Linked DNA regions of Homo sapiens: region 2 is linked to region 1. The links are contacts of gene promoters, found by promoter capture Hi-C in human tissues and cell types (Jung and others, 2019). All regions are on one chromosome and are shown on one strand. Each heading gives the region's core, a stretch centred on a gene start or on the middle of the fragment in contact. The rest is flanking DNA. Distances are from core to core; before and after follow the strand shown. Region 1 holds the start of SF3A3 (splicing factor 3a subunit 3). Region 2 has its middle 120 kb from the start of RRAGC.

Region 1 (6,715 bases), core at 2,130-4,629:
CAACTAAAAAATACATAAAATTAGCCAGGCGTGGTGGCAGGCACCTGTAGTCCCAGCTACTCAGGAGGCTGAGGAAGGAGAATGGCATGAACTCGGGAGGTGGAGCTTGCAGTGAGCCGAGATCATGCCACTGCACTCCAGCCTGGGCAACAGAGCGAGACTCCATCTCAAAAAAAAAAAAAAAAAAAAAGACAGAGTTAGGAACACAATTTATTGGGGAGAGTAATTTCTGTGAAAGATAAAAAGGAAGAGAAAGTAGGATTAGGACAGGATAGCCTAGACCACAATGCAGATTGGACAAAATCTTGACCAACCCAACGGGGAGCCATGGAGCAAAGATTATTCATCAGAGGAGTCTCAGAGTGGACCAAATTGCTGGGCCCTAGTACCCATACTGTGCTCAGTCACTGGCTGGGAGCTGCCCACAAAATGTGGCCTTGACTTCTTTTTTTTGAGACAAAGTCTCACTCTTGTCCCCCAGGATGGAGTGCAATGGCGCAATCTCGGCTCACTGCAACCTCCACCTCCCAGGTTCAAGTGATTCTCTTGCCTCAGCCTCCTGAGTAGTTGGGATTACAGGCACATGCCACCATGCCTGGCTAATTTTTGTATTTTTAGTAGAGGTTGAGTTTCACTATGTTGGCCAGGCTGGTCTTGAACTCCTGACCTCAGGTGATCCACCCACCTCAGCCTCCCAAAGTGCTGGGATTACAGGCGTGAGCCACCGTGCCCAGCCGGCCTTGGCTTAAAAGCTGAGGGAGATACTGAAAACACTGTATTGTAGGATGTCAGCTAACTATGGTCCTTGCAGCTAAATGGCAAGTTCTTTCTTGAAGTGCATTTGAATAGCACATGTCCAGTTTCCTTTATACCTTTCCTTTAGTATGCTTTAAGGATAGGTCTGGAGAAAATACTTTTCTGAGGACATACCTCATTTGGGTGCTTCCGGTGGAATTCCTTTATTTGCTTGAGTCTATTATAGAATTCAGCAAACTCATTGGGTCCTGAAATGGCATTGAGCTCCTCCTTTCGTAATCTGCAATTTCAGGAAAATTTCAAAGAAGATAGAGCACAAAGTCAGTCCTCTAACCATGGCTCCTCAGAAGCACTAACTCCTGGATTAGCTGTGACTGTCACTTACCCATCCTTATCATCATACAAATCCCTCAGGTTCCCACTGACCTCCATATACCTCTGAAAGGCAAATACAAAACCATCAGAATGATGCAATTTGCACAACTGTAGAGCTAAGCAAACAACAAGGGTTCTCCAGTCAAAGCCCAGGGCAACCTCAAGAGACATGGATATGAGATAGTCTTAACAGTTCTGTGCTTCCTAGTACCTTTAACAGCCCTGATTCCTGGTTAGTTTTTTAATAGCCCTTTAACAGCCTTGATTCCTGTTTAGTTTTTTAAGCAGGTCGATTGGAAGATTACCTAAATGATACATTTAAGGGGTGGCTCCTATCTTTACATACCACCGATGCCTAACTTCCCCTGTAACAGACTCACCCTCTTTGGCCAAACACTAGTTCCCACCTAACATCCTCAAAGATAAAGATGATATTCACTATTTCAAAACGCTTGACTGAGGAGTAGGCAGGCTAAATAAACATTACATAGGCTTCCTTTGTAGTCAAAGTATACTAATTCAGGATGGTACAGGTACATAGTCCCTCCTCCAAAACTTTTGGGACCAGATTTGTTTCAGAATTTGGAATGTTTAAGTTCAAAAGAGGTATCATATATTATGTAACATCCCTAGTGGAATCTGGAGCACACAGTTCTGCAGTAAACCTCATACCTTATTTACCAAGTGGGATAAATTAAAGACCATAAAAAGCCTATCACAGGTTCGGGCCAGGTTTTACTGTCAAGTGAGATCAGGTCAGATTTTGACACCAAATAATCACCCAAGGGGAAAAAAAGAAAATCCTTGGTTTTCAGAGTATTTTGGGGCTGAGGGCTTGTAATCTGATAATCTCCTGCAAATCAGAAGGTCCAAGTAGGTCTTTTATTCCTTTTTAAACAGGTTTCAAACATACACAAGAGTAAGGAACGTAGTAAAATGAACCTCCATTTATTCATCACCCAGTTTAAATAGCATCTTGTTTTTCTTTTAATAAACTGAACTATTACCAGACAAATGCAGTTTAGTAGTCCAAAACGCTTTAAAGTAGTATCCTGGGAGAAAAACACTAACATACGGGGTGTGTTGTGTGTGTGTGTGTGTGTGTGTATATATATATATATATTTTTTTTTTCATTTAAGGGAAGGATTGTAGCTATGCACCTGAGTCATGGACTCTTCATAACTATTGTTTGCACATCCAAGGGATACAGGATGCTGTAAGAATGGGCACGTGTAAGCCGGCCGCGGTGGCTCAAGCCTGTAATCTCAGCACTTTGGGAGGCCGAGGTAGGTGGATCACGAGGTCAGGAGTTCGAGACCAGCCTGACCAACATGTTTAGTAGAAACTCCGTCTCTACTAAAAATACAAAAATTAGCTGAGCGTGGTGGCGAGCGCCTGTAGTCCCAACTACTCCGGAGGCTGAGGCAGGAGAATCGCTTGAACCCAGGAGGCGGAGGTTGCAGTGAGCCGAGACCGCGCCACTGCACTCCAGCCTAGGCAACAGAGCGAGACTCCGTCCAAAAGAAGAAGAAGAAGAAAAAAAAAAAGGGCACCTTTCTGATTAATGAAGAATGCCCAAGAGTTCCCCATTCAGAGAACTGAGGAAGCACCCTCACGTTCGGCAGCCTGTGGACATCTGTCCAGGCAGAGAGCCCGCGACTGGCCAATCCGGTTACCTTTGGCCAGGGACTCATGCTGAGACACCGCACTTCACTTCCCCTCTCTTTTCCCGCCCTCGCCAACCCAAAGAGAGGCAGACAGCTGGGCACTCACATCTTGCATGGCCCGAGTGCGGTGATCAGAATTGATCTGGTCCCGGAGCTGAAAAAACAAACGGTGACACAAACGCCGTTAGTTTGCGTTCTGGAGTAGAAAAGGCCGCCCGAGGGCGGAGCTTACCCGCTCAGCTTTTACCAGCTGAGGCAGAAAGGCCTCTGGGGCTCCGGACCCCGGGAGGAGGTTACCAAGACCGGAGCTCGGAGAGGGAGCCCGGAGGAAGGCAGGGAGGTTCTGAGGGCCAAAGCAAGCTCTCAGAGGTCAAACACGGGATAGAGGCTCGTGCTCCTGCCGCAGCCTCTGCTCAGGCCCCACTCACCGTGGACTTCTTGGTGAGCATCTCTTTAGCCATGACGTCCATGAGCCGTTCCTTCTCCTCATGATAGCGCCGCTGCTGCTCCAGTATTGTCTCCATCTTCCCTTAGTCGCGGCTTCTCAATTCAGACCACCAACACGGCCGGAAGCAACTCCTGCCGCCCAGCGCGCCTGAGTCCCCACGTTGCGCATCAGGCTGCACCAAAGTTCCGCGAGTGCCGGAAGTGCCCCGGGACTTAAGAAAACAGGAGCACCACAAGGAAGGCCAGTCCATGTTATGGAGATGGCAACAGTGCCACCTGCTGGTGGGAGGTGTGGTGGAGCGATGCCGAGAGGTTCGCAGATGCCTCCAGGGGGCATAGGAAAACCCAAGAACCTGAGGTTCAGCGGACGGCTTCCTGCGGCTTGCTGGGGCCGGCTTGGCGGGCAGGTATCCTGTGTGGACTGCGCGAGCAGTTGGAGTGCGGATGGGAGTTGGGAAACCGGAACTTGAGGACGCAGCTTTCAGCATAAATTATGAGAACGTTTTCTCTTTCTCTGGACCTCAGCGTCTTTCTCAGGAAAATGGGAATAGTGGGGTTTTGCTGGTGGTGTTTTTAAAAAAATTCACATGTGAGGCCGGGCGCGGTAGCTCACGCCTGTAATCCCAACACTTTGGGAGGCCGAGGCGGGCGGATCACTTGAGGTCAGAGGTTCGAGACGACCAGGCTGGCTAACATGGTGAAACCCCGTCTCTACTAAAAACAAACAAACAAAAATTAGCCGGGCGTGATGGCAGGCGCCTGTAGTCCCAGCTACTCCGGAGGCTGAGGCAGGAGAATCGCTTGAACCCGGGAAGCAGAGGTTGCCGTCAGCTGAGATCGTGCCACTGCACTCCAGCCTGGGCGACAGAATGAGACTCAGTCTCAAAAAAAAAAAAAAAAAAGAAATTCACGTGTAGAAACGACTTGTCTATCGGCAGCGAATATGTTAAATAAAATACTGTGCATCCAACGAGATCAGGAGATTGAGACCATCCTGTCTAACACGGTGAAACCCCGTCTCTACTAAAACTGCAAAAAATTAGCCGGGCATGGTGGCGCGCGCCTGTAGTCACAGCTACTCGGGAGGCTGAGGCAGGAGAATCACTTGAACCCAGGAGGCAGAGGTTGCAGTGAGCTGAGATCATGCCACTGCATTCCAGCTTGGGCGACAGAGAGAGACTCCGTCTCAAAAAAAAGTAAAATAAAATAAAATAAAATACTGTGCATCCAAGCAGTGGAAGACCAGCTGTGAAATGACATACAGCCTTAAAAAAAATTCTGTCTATATATCTCCACTTGTAGGTAGAGAAATGCAAACATGTCCATGTGTTCATATGTTCACAGCGGCATTATTCATAATAGACAAAAACTGGATGCAGCCCAAGAGTCCATTAACTGGCAAATGGATAAAGTGTGGTATATCTATACAGTACAATGGAACATTATTCTGCAATAAATGAATACTACAATGATGAACCATGAAAGCATCATGCTAAGTGAAAGAAGCTAGACAGAAAAACAACAGTGTATGTCCAGATAAAACGTCCAGAACGGTGTTAAAAGAAAAACACTGGTGCTTGCTATGGCAGCACATATACTAAAATTGGAACCATACAGAGAAGATTAGCATGGCCCCTGCAAAAAGAAAAAAAAAAAAAAACACCGGTTATTACAGCTTGGTCTTTGCCTTATTTGAACACGGTTTGCATAGTTTGCCATGTTTGATTGGCCAAAACTCGGTGATTGGCAAAGAGTAGGCTATGGTCTGTTTACAACTCCATTTAGGTTATAGTTCACAATGTACAGAGAAACCTTTAGGCTAAATTTAAAATATGTAAGGAGGCAGCTTTAGGCTACAATTGAGTTAACAAAGGCAAATCTATGGAGGCAGAAATATGAGTGGTTGCTTGTGACCGCAGGTGAGATTGGAAGTGATTACAAATGCGCACAAGGAATCCATTTTGGATGGGTAGAAATGTTCTAAAATTGGATTGTGGTGATAGTTGCATAACTCTATTCATTTTATTAAAATTAATTGCTTTGTACTGTTAAAAATGGGTGAATTTTATGGTATATAAATTACACTTCAATAAAACTGTTAAAAACTCTGTATGAACTCATATGGAGAGATGGCCACACAAACTGAAAAAAGCTAGATGCACAAGTGTGTATAAAAATAGATGTGCAAAGAGATTATTTCTGTAAGGATATCCAAGTAACAGTAAACAGTGGTTGTTCCTGAGCAGACAGCCTTGGAGATCTGATATGGGAGATTTTTCTTTGTATACACCCCAAGCACAGCATAAAAAGTTATTCTTAAACATACTTTTTCAATTTAAAAATTAATTTAAAACTGAAAATACATATGTGCACATTTATGTTTAACAAAAAAGAACGAGGAGGACATAATGCATCACATTATTAGTAATTTACCTATTGTTCACTTTTTTCTTTTTTTTCTTTTTCTTTTTTTTTTTGATAGGGTCTCTCTCTGTTGCCCCAGGCTGGAGTGCAGTGGCATAATCATGGCTCACTGCAGCCTCCACCCCTGTGGCCCCCACAGGTGGGTGCCACCACCCTGGTTAATTTTTTATTTTTTTCCCACGCAACAAAAGCCACATTTAAAGTTTTGTTTTGGGAGTCTCGCTCTGTCGCCAGGCTGGAGTGCAGTGGCGCGATCTCAGCTCACGGCAACCTCTACCTCCTGTGTTCAAGCGATTCTCCTGCCTCAGCCTCCTGAGTAGCTGGGATTACAGGTGACTGCCACCACACCTGGCTAGTTTTTGTATTTTTAGTAGAGACGGGCTTTCACTATGTTGGCCAGGCTGGTCCTGAACTCCTGACCTCCGGGTGATCTGCCTGCCTTGGCCTCCCAAAATGCTGGGATTACAGGTGTGAGCCACCGCACACCAAAAAACTGCGAGGTTTTTTGTTTTTTGTTTTTTTTTGAGACAGGGTCTTTCTGTGTCATCCAAGCTGGAGTGCAGTGGCACGATCTTGGCTCACTGCAACCTCTACCTCCTGGGTTCAAGCAATTCTGCCTCAGTCTCCCTAGTAGCTGGGATTACAGGTGCGTGGCACCATGCCCAGCTAATTTTTGTATTTTTAGCAGAGATGGGGTTTTGCTATGTTGGCCAGGCTGGTCTTGAACTCCTGCCCTCAGGGTGATCCGCCCACCTTGGCCTCCCAAAATGCTGGAATTACAGGCATGAGCTACCACACCAAGCCAAGGTTTTTCTTTTTTTTTTGAGACAGGGTCTTGCCAAGCTGGAGTACAGTGGCACAATCTTGGCTCACTGCAGCCTCGACCTCCTGGGCTAAAGCTATCCTCCCACTTCAGCCTCCTGAGTAGCTGGGACTATAGATGTGCGCCACTACACCCTGCTAATTTTTGTATTTTTTGTAGAGATGGGGTTTTTTGCCGTGTTGCCCAGGCTGGTCTCAAACTCCTGGACTCAAGCGATCTTCC
Region 2 (6,715 bases), core at 2,600-5,099, 750 kb after region 1:
CTCCATAGTCCCCTCTGGAAATCAGGTAACTAGCAACCTGTCAATCAATTTGGATGCATCTCACAGACAAGGTACTCAAGATGGAACTCCTAATTCCTCCCCAAGTCTTCCCACCTGCAGCATGGTACCACCATCAATTCAGCTGGGGGAGGGAGGAATCTAATCCTCTGTATTCCTCGTCCCCCACATCTTATCTATCAGTAAGTTCTTTCCACTCAACCTCCAATAGAAGTGCTAAATCCACCACTTCTTGCCTTCACCACTGTCACCAGCAGTTCTAAATCACTATCGTCTCTCACCTGGACCCCTGCAAGTGTCCTAATTAGTCTTCCTGCAACTATTCATGCCCCTTCCAGCACCTGTTCCACAAGGCAGCCAGAGTAATCAGCCATTGGAAACAGCATCAGATCACACCACTCCCCTGCTTAAAACCCTTTTCTATCAGAATGCAAGTTCTGTAAGATTTGGAACCCAACTCTCATCTTCACCTCGTATCCCTAGTACCTACAGTACAACGGTGCCAGCACAAAGTAGGTACTCAGTAAATATTGCTTGCATGAATGAATCAAGTGATAACCTTAATTGCAAACATCCAAAATCTTCTATTATTTATAGAAAAGTGGCTCTATCTCTTTTCATTTTTATTCCAACATTGTAGTGGTTGTTCTCTAATTTCTGTGGAGATGTCAACATATGTAGACTCTAGGCAATTTATTTTTCCCCTTCCCTCCAGAAGTAAAGTAAAAGGAATATGTGACTCACACACACAGATGCATCTCACGCCAGTTGTGTTGCTTGAGAATAGATGGGAGATTATGCTGATTGAACTGGACAGTTTCCATTTTTATTATTTTAATTATAAACACAAACTATTGGGGGTAAAATCTTATGGAAATCTGCCTATCAATTTCACAATTAACATCTCATTTCAAGAGACCAATCAACTCAAATGAGGGCCAGTGACCTTAATCTTTCCCCAAATACAGTGTTTGATTCCTCTTATTAGTTGAAAATCTCCGAACTATGAAACATGTGGGTTAGACCGATGTTTGCTTCAACGATGCTATCAGCCACATTTCAGTAAGTCAAGGAATTTTTGTGACCTTTGCGTTACAGTTTGTATGGACAAAAGAAGGAAGGCTAAAGCTGTGCAAATCAAGTAGGAGAAATAACAAGGCCACTTAAGTAGGGTCTCTTTTTTTCATTTATTTTTCTAAGACTGTGGAAGGAAGTGTGATTTTAAGGCAACTTATTTTGCCACTGATTAGCTAAAATTAACCCAAGAAGAGAGTAAAGCCCAGAAGTGAAAGGCAGCTAATTTTAATCCTAAAGGTCTGTAAAAAATCCTATCAGAAAAATAAAATTCTCTTTGTGATATAGGAGAAAAAAAAACTTGGCTTTTAAAAAGAAATGCAACAGAAAAAGACAAATTTGACCTGGCAAACAATGCGTCTACTTAACATCAATACTCCTGCAAAGATTAGAACAAGACCATACACTCTGCAGGGTTAATCACTACTCCCAAAACACCAGAGGTTCCACCTAAGTAAACGCGGGACATGTACACACAGGTACCAACCAATCATTAGAACTAGACAGACCAATTACTAATAGCCTGTTAACAACCAGTTGGGCAATTTCACTTTGGAGTAGACTTGGGGCACACAAGATGCCAAAACTACCCCTGAAACATTTCAAGGTCAGCCAAGAAGCTGCCAGTCTTGTCTCTCTGACTGCATTGATTGATGTGCCTTGAGCAGCTCCATCCAAGCCTTTGCGGGGGTGAAGGATTTTTCTTCAACCTGCTCACATGGATGATTGGCTGTTTGGGATCTGTATGGCTAGAATTCTTAAGCTGCAAGAAATAGAAACCAACGTAAGCTAAGCTGAGGCAGCAAAGGGGAATTCATTAAAAGGATATAAGACTGTTTCTTGGAACTCAAGGGCACAAATGGCACCAGACCTCAAGAAAGAACTTGCTGCAGGTCTCTTTTCTGTTCCTTTCATCCATTTGCTTCTCAGTTCACAACAGAAAGAAATGGCCACCCCCTACTCCCAAGTCCCCATCTATTCTTTTCTACAGACCATCCCAGCCAGTCCTAGAATTTTTGAGTCTCAAATTTTGAGGAGAAAGAAACTGAATTGTCAAATTTGGATCAGGTATACCATACTATACCTTCAACCATGACCAAGTGGACTGTAACACAATGCAGACATGACTATAAGGGTTGGTGCACAAGGATGAGGAGGGAAATTCAGGAAGATTACCATGAGGTAGGCAGAATCTTCCAGAAAGTATCTAATAAAGGACTACATTATCACAACCAGAGCCAACTGAACTAGCCTAACACACAGAGCCGGGGTCAAGCCAAATGATTCCCATTGTACCTTTGGTCAGACCTTCTCCATAGGGCAAGAGGCCAGTACCCAGTAGAAACGAATAACCTGCAGCTGCTTCACAATGCTCTGGGAGAGGAGCCACAGCTATACTCTCTGAGAGCACCCTGTATTCTTCTTCATCCTGCTTATGACAGTTTGTAATCCTACATTTATTTTAAACTTGTTTAATGAGCATCTCTCTCCATCACTCAGTTTGAAGCTCTACAAACAAGGTCAGGTACCATATTGGTTTTACTTCCTGTCCTAGTCCATTTTTGCATTGCTATAAAGAAATATCTGGGACTGGGTAATTTATAAAGAAAAGAGGTTTAATTGGCTCATAGTTCTGCAGGCTGTACAGGAAGCATGATGCTGGCATCTTCTCGGCTTCTGGGGAGGCCTCAGGAAACTTATGATCATTGCATAAGGTGAAGGGAGAGGAGGCACGTAGGCACATTACATGGTGAAAGAAGGAATAAGAAAGAGAGCAGGGAGGTGCTACACATTTTTAAATGACCAGATCTCACAAGAACTTACTATCACAAGGACAGTACCAAGGGGAATGGTGCCAAACCATTCATGAAAAACTACCCCCATGATCCAATCACCTCCCACCAGGCCCCAACTCCAATACTGGGGATTACAGTTCAATATGAGTTTTGGGCAGGGACATAGATTCAAACCATATCACTTCCCTTCATCTTCCTGGCACCATGCCTGACACATACTGAATACTCATCAAAGAGTGAATAAAATGAATGGAGTGGAGGAGTCCAAGGAAGTTTTGCCAGATGATTTGGTACATGAGTTGAGTCTCAAAGGACAAACAGAGTCTTTTAGGAGAACAAGCTGGGAGAGCATCCCTGGCAGAGGGAATGACAGAGGGCCCAAAGGCACATAGTGCAAATACCACAGAAATGGTGAGGCAGCTTGCGGCAAGAGAGCTGGCCAGGAAGTAGAGGTGGAGGTCACCTCATCTTGCATAGAGACTGGAGGGCTCAGAGCTAGGAATGACGTGTCTAGATTGTAGACTAATCCATCTGATGGGAATGTGGGAGCTGGACTGGAGGCAGGAAGATGAGCTCGAAAGCTTATGTAATCATCCAAGAGAAAAAAGCAATGGTAGTGAGGATGGGGAGGAAAAGATTTTAAAAGTTAGTAAGGAAGTAGGATCAGCAGAAATTCAGGGAATACAATTTTGTCATTTGATGACCTAGTTATTTATGTACGTCTTATCGCCCATGCAAGACTGTGAGCTTCTGACTCAGTCTTCCTCATTCCTGTGATACCACGGCTGTTATGCAGTGCCCACCCAACACACAGCAAGTTTGTTGAGAAAATAAACTAATGAATGATTGAATCACTACCACCAACCAAAGTGGGGACAGCTGCCAGGATGGGGGGCCACACAGTGTCCTTTGAGGGTTTCATAGAAGTTTGCTGCTTGTATGTTTATCTTGCCTCCATAAAATGCTTAGAGGTGCTAAACTTCTTTTACAGTCCCCTCAACCCCCAACACAGGCCTGGACTCAGGGTAAAATGTCAGCCATACATCCCTGTTTAATGAGCTAGACTGGAGCAGACTGAAATGGAAATAGAAGGGGTCTCCTATTCTTTAGAAAGAACCTAATATGTAGACCCAAAGTGAGAGGAGAGACTGGTAGACCTTCCCCATTGTAGGTGTGGCAGGGATCCTCTGCCAGGGCTTCTGTGAAGATAACCTAACCTAACTGAGCTGCCCCTCATAGGCAAGCACTAGCAGAAGAGAGGATAAATCCCCTTCAATGGACCAAAAACACTGGAACCCCTTGGCAAAGACCAGAGTCCAAAAGCTTCAAAGAGCTGAGACTGAGCCTGAACAAATACCAGAAGCTTCTGACCTTAGGAAATGATGCAAGTGAATTAAGGGTGTTCCTAGCTCTGTTCTCAGTAACATGGTGAATGAATGAACAAGCGCATGAACAAACTAATAAGCAAATGTTTTCTACCTATTTATGATTTTTTTAAAAAAAGAGCTGACTGGAAATACATAATTTTTAATAAATAGAGATATTACGTTTTACCTAGGGGCCTCTATTATTATCTTGAAAACAGAGTTTGATTCAAACATTTGTTTCATTTCAAGAAAAGGTTCTATACAGAAATCATAAAGTAACCGGAGTGTGTTGTATAGCCTGATGGTCTCCCACACAGGGCAAGCCTGGCCTTTCAACTCTCACAGCAAACAACAATTTCACCTGCACATTCACCAGTGGCAGCTACCCAACGGGAGGCAAAAAAACCATGGGGGCGTAATTAGCCCACGATGATTTCAAGTATTTTGGTTGGCCTTAAAATTGTCGCTGTCCTATCAGTCAACATTTCCCCATAATTACCTCGATGGAAATTTTCTGTACACACAAACCAGTTTTACTGAATCACGCATTACGAAGAAGAAGGAAAAAAGGTGAATGCTGAATTTTGTAAAAAACAAAACTACACTGCAGGCCGGGCGCAGTGGCTCATGCCTGTAATCCCAGCACTTTGGGAGGCCGAGGTGGGCGGATCACGAGGTCTGGAGATCGAGACCATCCTGGCTAACACGGTGAAACCCCGTCTCTACTAAAAATACAAAAACAAAAAAATAGCCGGGCGTGGTGGCAGGCACCTGTAGTCCCAGCTACTCGGGACGCTGAGGTGGGAAAATGGCGTGAACCTGGGAGGCAGAGCTTGCAGTGAGCCGAGATTGCACCACTGCACTCCAGCCTGGGTGACAGAGCGCAAGACTCCGTCTCAAAAAAAAAAAAAAAAAAAAAACTACACTGCAAAAAAACCTGTACCAAAACCTATCTTGGTAGGTTTTCTTATATCTTTTTGGTTATGCATGTTTAACTTATAAATATTTTCTCATGTTACTAAAAACCTCTGCCCAAACACACTTTTAGCAGTTGCATAATATTCCTTCAAGTAGCTGAGCTGTGGCTTACTTAACCATTAGCCTCATTTTGGGCAATCAGACCTGTCTCCATATTGTTACATTATACACAGTGCTGTAAGGAATATCCCCTGTGCATAGAGTGGTTTCTATGTATCAAGTTAACCAGCTCGGAGGAACTCTGGGATGCGCAATTGAGAGGGATGATGCACACCTCTGTGTACATTTCCTAAAAGAAGACATTGCTTTTGTGCCCTGCACAGATTACAAGGCAGAACCAAGACTATGACTTCTGAGTGCCTTCCAGCTTGAAGAACCACACAGGCCAAAATTCCCCATGATTGGCAGCTTCAGAATCTCAGGACGGTATTAGGGCCCAGGTATTTGTATCTGAAGCTCTCCAGGGAAGGAAACACTGTGTCACATCCCACACACAGAAATACCCCCTCACAGGTGCACAGCCTACAAAGGAATCTGTGGACCAGAGCGCCTCATTGCAAACAGCTGAAGCTAATTGTAGCTGGCATAAGCAGCAAAGGCAAGATGATCCTTCAGCTCACAGCACCGAGGGGAGAACCCAGCTCCAAAGCAGGTAGAAACTCGGGAAGTCAGGAGGGGTCTGGGTAGGATACCACCTCCAGCTGCTGGCTCCACAGCCACTGGGAGGAATTCTAATACGCCCCCTACTCTGCGTGTCACTCAGCCAAGAGCCACTGCACAGGGTAAGAGCAGCTGATTGGCTGAGCATCACCACATGTCCATGCATACGAGTACCTGACCCCATTCCATTTCTGTATGAGAGGCAGAGCTTTCACTCCTACCTACTCCCCACATAAAAAGAGTATTTGGATACTAGGCAATCCCGGGAGACAAATATCTGCTGTGCACCTGTTTGGCCTCTATTACTTCATTCAACTTTCACAAGAACCCTAGGATGGTAGCAGAGCAGCAGTTATTCCCCGTCTTACCCATGAGGAAGTTGAGGCTCAGTGAGAGTAACTGACTGCCCAAACCAATGTCGGGGAAAAGAGGTAGACATGAGCCCTTTCTGCCTCTCAGAAGAACTGTTCATGGTCTAATCCTGTGAATTCTTGACAACAAATGTCTCTCATTTAAGCAATGAGTTATTGGAAGAGGATCAGCTATCACAATCGTTGGATACTGTACTTCATAAACTTACTGATCTGCGCATCATTTGTCTTATTTTTGTTGCTGTTAATACTTTTCGCCCCCAGAGAAAAGACTCTGAGCGGTGAGCTCATCTGTTCTGCCATTCAATGTATTAAATTAACACCTCAATGCGTGGACTAAAACTTAGAGGTGAAAAATCTAGTCCTTGCAGCCAAGACCGAATATCATTTATCTTAACCTTGCATATTAGGAGACTGTCTGAAAGGGCAACTTTGAAGTTCATGGAAACAA

What was found. Contacts are between HindIII fragments. The study calls those that stand out against the background at their distance.
Region 2: a contact is called between a fragment that was not itself captured here and the fragment with the promoter of SF3A3 in region 1, in 1 of the 25 tissues and cell types used here (lymphoblastoid cells).

Annotation. Positions count from the first base shown.
Region 1 is chr1:37,986,643-37,993,357 of GRCh38, forward strand. SF3A3 (splicing factor 3a subunit 3) reads right to left here and starts at 3,380. Exons shown (of 17, transcript NM_006802.4): 1 at 3,228-3,380; 2 at 2,906-2,953; 3 at 1,142-1,194; 4 at 931-1,036. The coding sequence starts at 3,323. It also overlaps the pseudogene RNU6-510P. RefSeq lists enhancers at 2,632-2,731, 3,432-3,601, 3,993-4,538. The HindIII fragment of the contact is 23,460 bases long and covers 1-6,715 here.
Region 2 is chr1:38,732,383-38,739,097 of GRCh38, forward strand. No RefSeq gene overlaps it. Among named protein-coding and RNA genes, the nearest start is that of RRAGC, 120 kb to the right of the region's middle. The HindIII fragment of the contact is 4,885 bases long and covers 1,408-6,292 here.